Linked DNA regions of Homo sapiens: region 2 is linked to region 1. Evidence: promoter capture Hi-C in 16 types of primary human blood cells and fetal thymus (Javierre and others, 2016). All regions are on one chromosome and are shown on one strand. Each heading gives the region's core, a stretch centred on a gene start or on the middle of the fragment in contact. The rest is flanking DNA. Distances are from core to core; before and after follow the strand shown. Region 1 holds the start of SERP2 (stress associated endoplasmic reticulum protein family member 2). Region 2 holds the start of SMIM2-AS1 (SMIM2 antisense RNA 1).

What was found. Contacts are between HindIII fragments. The CHiCAGO score rates a contact against its expected background, and 5 or more counts as called.
Region 2: a contact is called between a fragment that was not itself captured here and the fragment with the promoter of SERP2 in region 1, in 6 of 17 cell types (naive CD4 T cells, naive B cells, total CD8 T cells and 3 more). The highest score is 8.2, in naive CD4 T cells.

Annotation. Positions count from the first base shown.
Region 1 is chr13:44,372,335-44,375,546 of GRCh38, reverse strand. SERP2 (stress associated endoplasmic reticulum protein family member 2) reads right to left here and starts at 1,723. Exons shown (of 3, transcript NM_001010897.3): 1 at 1,438-1,723. The coding sequence starts at 1,521. LOC105370297 (a long non-coding RNA gene) reads left to right here and starts at 1,981. Exons shown (of 2, transcript XR_001749858.3): 1 at 1,981-2,150; 2 at 2,350-3,212. The HindIII fragment of the contact is 1,852 bases long and covers 616-2,467 here.
Region 2 is chr13:44,108,895-44,112,106 of GRCh38, reverse strand. The region is part of intron 2 of LINC00390 (long intergenic non-protein coding RNA 390); the gene reads left to right. SMIM2-AS1 (SMIM2 antisense RNA 1) reads right to left here and starts at 1,558. Exons shown (of 5, transcript NR_104065.1): 1 at 1,495-1,558. The HindIII fragment of the contact is 1,666 bases long and covers 871-2,536 here.

The sequences.
Region 1 (3,212 bases), core at 474-2,973:
GTCAACCCGGGCAGCCATTTTTTTTTCCTCAGTAAAAATAGGGAAAACATAAATCAATGTGACAAAATGGTTCCAATTTGATGGCATCTTGGCATTTTGCTGCCTAATCACAACTGAGTGATATAATTCCTAAATGAGAGAATTTTAAGGATTACTTAGGTCTTGTGTATAAAGCTCTGAGTAGAGTTGAGTTATGCTTAGACTTGTGTATAAAGCTCTGAGTAGAGTTGAGTTTGGTCCTAGAGTTTCTCTGCCGTAATACTGCTTGGTTTTGCAAGAATTCTGGTGTGATGATTACAGATCTAGCTTTTTGCTTAGTTAATCAAACCAATATAGTTTCTTTGGCTAAAAGGAATTGATTCATCAAATCTGCAAGCTTTCCCAGCCAAACTCCAGGCTTCAGCTGGATTTCCACTTAACTGTACGGGGTAACAGATCCCAGGCGCCTTTGCTCATATACTTGGAGACCAACTTCGCCAAACTACCCATGCGACTCATGCCTCTGAATGTCCAAAGTCACAGGCCTCGCATTTTCTGTTGATGATAATCTGCTTTGCTAAAAGAAACTCCTGAGTGTAAGGCACAGGTTTTACTTAAAAGTCCAGTTGCAAAGCTTGAATTTACAGTTCTAGGGACACCGAATGCCTGACAATAAACTGGTCTCTAAAGTTATACCATGAGAATGAGTCTGAATTCACCAAGTGGAAAGAATAGGAATGCTGCCCTTAGACTTTAGCCTAGGGGCTGAGGGAGGTCTCGCTGGAAGAGAGGTAAAAGAGAAAAAAGAGGCTGGAGGGAATGTGGGTCCAAATCTCACTCCCCATTTTGAGCTCTTTCCACACCTCCAGTGAAACCGTCACAAAGGGGCTGGAAAGAAAACTTGATCCTGGTGCAAGTCTGTTGGGGAGGGAAGACAGGTGGAGTCCGGGAGGAGATGACAAGTGGCCTCCATTTAGCCATTGATTCATTCATTCATTCAACAAACGTTCTAGAACATACTAGGTTCCAGGCTCTGTGTCATGCAACGTTCTAGAACATACTAGGTTCCAGGCTCTGTGTCATGCAGTTGACTTAACTGGCCCCTAAGGATGAGGCTTTCCGTCTTTCTCCGGGACAAGGCCCAGCTGTCTCCCGGGCAGGGGGACAGGGGGTGCGGGTCGGGGAGGAGGGCTCCTCTGCGCCTCCCTGGTAGCCCAGGTAGCCACTCCCAGAGGGGCCACGACCAACCAGGGCCCTCTCCGCCCACGAGGACGCCAAGCAGACCGCGCCGCCCTGAACCCAGCTCTCAGCCCCCACTCTGCAGGACCCCGCAGAAGGGGCGGGCCGGGAGCCGGGAGGCCGGACCCTGCGCCGCTACCCGCCCGGCCCCGCCCCCACCTTCCGCCCCACCCCGCCGGGCTGCAGGGCTCTGCCTGGCCGGCGCCGACCCCGCCTTACCAGGGTTTTGGCTACGTTCCCCCTCTGGGTGATGTTTTTGCTGTGCTTCTCGTTAGCCATCCGGATCCGCTGTTTGGCCACCATGGCTTGTGCGCTCTGAAATGCTCCCACCTGCAAGGATTCCCCCTGCGTTAGCTCCTGCGACAGGGCCGAGCGCGTCCCGCCGAGGCCCCCGCGGCCCACCCGGGCGCTGCAGGTGGCAAGGCGTGGCCCCGAGCCCTGCGCACCCCGCTCCCCGAGCCCCGGCTAGCCGACTCCAGAGAGAGGCCGCAGCCCGGACGGAAGTAATCTCTCATCTCAGGAAACCCTTTCCGACTTCCTCGCCATCCTTCCGGTCCCCGCAGCCACCTACCCCGCGCGGCCACCGAGGCAGGCGCGACCGCACGTCCTCCCGCGCCGAGCGGCCGGAGCGCAGCGCGCAGAGCCGGGGCCCTGCAGTGTCGCGGTCCTGTAGCCGAATGCTGCGGGGCCGAAGGTTCGGGCGACCACGGCGTTTGTGAGCGCGTCGGGGACGGGGACGCGGCCCCTCCTGTGTTTGTCGGCCGGTGACCCACCCCAGCCCCGGGGAAGGGATGAGGGCGGCCGCGCTTCAGGCCGGGCCGCGCGGTCTCCCCTGCACCGCCGCCCCCTGGACGAGGGCTGGACCCAAGGCGGTGGTCAGGGACCTCAGAACACAAGTAGAACCAGTCCAGGCCCGGGCCCGCGCTGCCCGGGTATGGTCCACCAAACGAGCCTTCTCTTTAAGGGTCTCGAGAAGGGCCCCACGCTGGGGGACCCCACTGCAGAACTTTTCGTGAGGGCTGCAAGGAGGGCCGCGTTGTAAAATAAAGAGGAGACACGAAGCGGCATCCCCTGAGGGTTGGGGATCGGGCCGTGAGGATGGAGTTGGGACAGGCCTTTTTGCTTTGGTAGTTGTAGGGGTTGCATTGGAAGATGGGCCAGCGGCAGAGCGGAGCATGCAGGAAAGAGGAAGAGGCCTTGGACCTGCAGCCCAGGTCGGATTTGGTGGTTACTGTCTAAATCTGAAGCTTTGGCCTGCCTTGACTCCCCACCCACCCAGGGCAGCTTGGACCTCTCTCTAGCCACCCTTGTCCCGAGGGGTCTGAGTGTCTCCCAGACTAAACTGGGCATTTTCTGCAGTGGAAGGATAAAAATGGAAGCGTTTACGCGCCTCCCAGACACTGGTATTAGGGCTCAAGAGCTCTACAGATTGCCTGGGGAGGTAGGGGTGGAAGGGGTTCAGTTCCTCACTTGGAGTTAGCTCTTAGAAGCTCAGAAGAGTGGAGGCGAAGAGGGGACATTCAGCCTGGGAGATCTGGGGCAGCGGGAAGTGGGGATACCGGGTCGGGGTGAAGGCAAGCAGCAGCACCCCCAGCATGGGGAAGAAGGCCTGAGGCTGTCTCTGGCCACTGCATCTCTAGGCCTTCTCTTGGAGCGGGAGGTGGCTGGGTTTCCAGGGAATTTTGTGTGAGTAAAATTTTCCCATGTCATTGGAGAGTTAGGAAGAGCTCCTCTTTTGGGGCCTTTTTCCAAGCGGGTCCCCCTCACCCCGCTACAGGCTTCTTGTCACTCAGGCTTCAATAAAGGCCATTCTGGGGGCTGCTTGCTGTAACCTAGAAGACAGAATTGCCTAGGATCATTAGTAGAGTCATTTTTTTTTTTTCCTACTCTACAGGCCAATTAATTTGAAACAAGCTTCTATGGTCTTTTAACTGTTAGCATCACCACTGTTGTAACAGGACCATAAACCCAGTCTGCCCCACTCTAGTCCCATG
Region 2 (3,212 bases), core at 454-2,953, 260 kb after region 1:
CCACTTTTAGTGAGGGCCTGCTGTGTGCTCACCACCATGCCTGGCAGCTTCTGCTGTCATCTCGTTTCACCCTTTGAAAAGTCTAGAAGGAGAGCAGGTATTGTCAGGCCCATTGTGAAGAAATTAAAAGCAAGACTCAAAGAAGCTGTAAGGTGCCTAGGATCATAAGACCAGTAAGCGTGGGTGAGGCCAAGGCTTGGCCTGGATCTCTTACCTCCACTCCTTATTGCTTGTCACATTGTGTACCGATGTCTGGGTATTTTCCCAGCCTGCCATTGATCTTAGAAGGAAAATTCTGCACTGGTGCTGCTCCAAGAGATACAGAGGATGCATTGATCTAACCCAATGTGTTATGTGGTTGATTTCTAAGGTGAAGTGAAATCAGTTCCAAAAAGGTTTGAAGAGATCAGCGCTGTCCATCCAGGGTTAAGACCCTATGTGTACCTTCCCTGGAATTCCATATTTATTGGTGATGCTATTTCTGTCTCAGAAAAGTCCCCCTAATTTCCAAAGTGGCTTACAAATAATAGGTTCTAGATCATCTTGAAAAAATTGGTCAGGTGATTGTGTATAAGAAAGAGGACAATTTTATATCACAAAAAGGAAAATGCACCAACATTTATATGTTTGCATTCAACTGTATGTTGTGCACAGTTGTGTGTGTGTTGGGGTTGGAAGAGTAAGTGTCATGGAAACTGAACGATGCTGGGAAATACATCCTAATTACTCAGGACCATATGTTTTTTATAAACAAGCAAACAAGAGTCATGGATTCAACTATAATGGATAAAAATCTCTCAAGTTAAAAACAATACAAGGAAGTAAAGTAGAATAGCACAGTACAGTAGTTAAGCATGAAGTAGTTAAGCTTGAAGCCAGTTGCCTGAGTTTATAACCCAGTCTGCTAATTACTAGTTGTGTGACATTTGATAGGTCAGTCACTTAAAAACAAAATAAAACAAAACAAACAAATCCTCTGTTCAATATTCCCCTCTATAAAGTGGACACAATAATAATAAGTATGCATAAGGATGTTGCGAAGGTTAGATGAGAAAGTGCAAATGAAATGTCTGATACTTCATAGAAGTGTGTTATAAAAGAGAAAAATATATATACGATTTTTGAACTCCTTGTAATAGAATAATATATTTCTCAGGTTCAAGAAGTTGGGAAAGAGTTAATCACAACAGAATTGTCACCATGCTAAGAGAGAGAGCAAGTGATTTTACTACTAGAAGCCAGTATGAACCCAATAACACAGTATGGGGAAGAGAACATCTAACCAATGCATAATAATTAGGATATTGTTGAGAACCGAGCCCTCCGAGCTTCTACATGCCTTTAACAATTAGTAGGTCAATGACCTTGCTCAGTGGATCTCCACTCATATGGGAGGCACCAGCAAAATGAAGAAAAACCCGCAGACGCTCTTGTAGGAAATGCAATTAAAGTGGAAAGGCCTAAAATAACATTTCCATTGTGCCCCTCACTTACATTGGAGAGTCAGGGCCAGACTGGGAGGCTGGCAGGGAAACAGCTTGGCACTGCAGGCCACCTGGGGTCCATTTGCCAACAGGACTTGTGGCTAACATCCTTTGATAACAAATTTCCCAGAGTCACAGGGCTCTTTTAGATCACCATGATTCCGGGTCACAAGACGGATGGGAAGCCACAGAGCCCCGGGTCCTTTCCGTGAAGTTAAATATTACACCATCCATAATGAAACATCTTTGTATCTCCTCGTGGCCACAATTACTTAGTCACTGATTATACAATAAACTCTTCAGAAATAATTCACAAAGATGAGAAATCAAACCCCACCCTTTTATGTTCTGAGGCATGAACCAGCTCCACCTCTTGAGAGAGGGAGGTAAAGCCTGTTGCACATCTTCAGCCCATGGTATTTTCCGGCAAATGTGGAAGACCCTCAATATTGGAAGGTGATCTGCAGTTCCACAGGGAGACAGTACAATGGGTGCCTGCCTGGGAATGGCAGTGCCTGGCTTCAGATACGATTTCAACCGATCAGCTGTATAGCACTGGGCAAATTACTTAATTTCCTAGGCATCTCAGTTTCCTTATTCACCAAATGGCAGTAATAATTGCACCTACTTCATAAGGTTGTTGGACCTGGCACACTGTAGTTGCTAAATAACCGTCAACTATAATGCCCATTCTCCTGAGTCGTTCACCTTTTCGATAGCCTAGCAAAAAGTTCTTTGAAAAAATGACAACTACCAAACAAAAGGCATATTTCATATAGACAAAATAACTCACATTGTCTCTTACACATGATAGGGACCTTGCCCATGATTGTGGCCCTTACATAATCTGGATAACCATTTGGGTTTTTATTGCTATGTGGTGCTTCTTCTGCAAATGGTATTGTCCTTTGTGAAACCCACTGCTTTTACCTTATCATTGGCAAATACTTTTGGGGTTTACTCGAAATGTATTCACTGGCATGGGGAGTATGGATGAGGTCCCTCCTTCATGGAACTTAGATTCTGGTTAGGTAAGGGGTAACAATAAAGCTTAAGAAGTTTTAGGATCCCAAACTCAGAGTTCAAGGGGCTCATGTGTGAGGAACTCTAGGGGGAGGAAGAAAAGAAGTAAAGTTTAAGCTCAAAATTGAAGGCGGCTGAGAGTTTTGCTTGAGAAAGTGCCCCAGGTGGGTGGAAGAATGTGGTTCCAATACCTAAAAGGAAAAGAAGCTTGGAGTTGAGAGGAGCCGAGGCCTTCCACCCACCTGCAGCAATGTCAGGCGGTAAGAGGATGATGGTCAGGCTGACCTAGGCTTGGAGACCACATCAAAGGGTCAGGCTTGATCCCAAAAGTATCAAGGAATCACGGAAGGGTTTCACACTGGGAGTGAAATGGTCTGACCTGAGGTGAGGCTGGATCATCTTGGCTGCTCTGTGAGGCAGGAGAGAATGTGGGGATCCTGGTGGGAGGCTGTGGCTGTCAAGTCGGCACAAGTGCACCATCTTTTAATGATTCTGGCCCAGACTTGGGTGGTTTGGAGGTAAAGAGGTAGATAGATTTGAGAAACATTTAAACATTTGGCTTAAAACTAAAGCTAGCCCTCCCTGCCCCACAAATCAGGATAAGTAGCAACATTAACCTATAGTCGGCCCTTCTGCTACCAACACCCAGGACGTTTTTAGTTTGGAAAAAGAAGGGACCTGGTATCTAAAGTGCAGCTTGGGGGT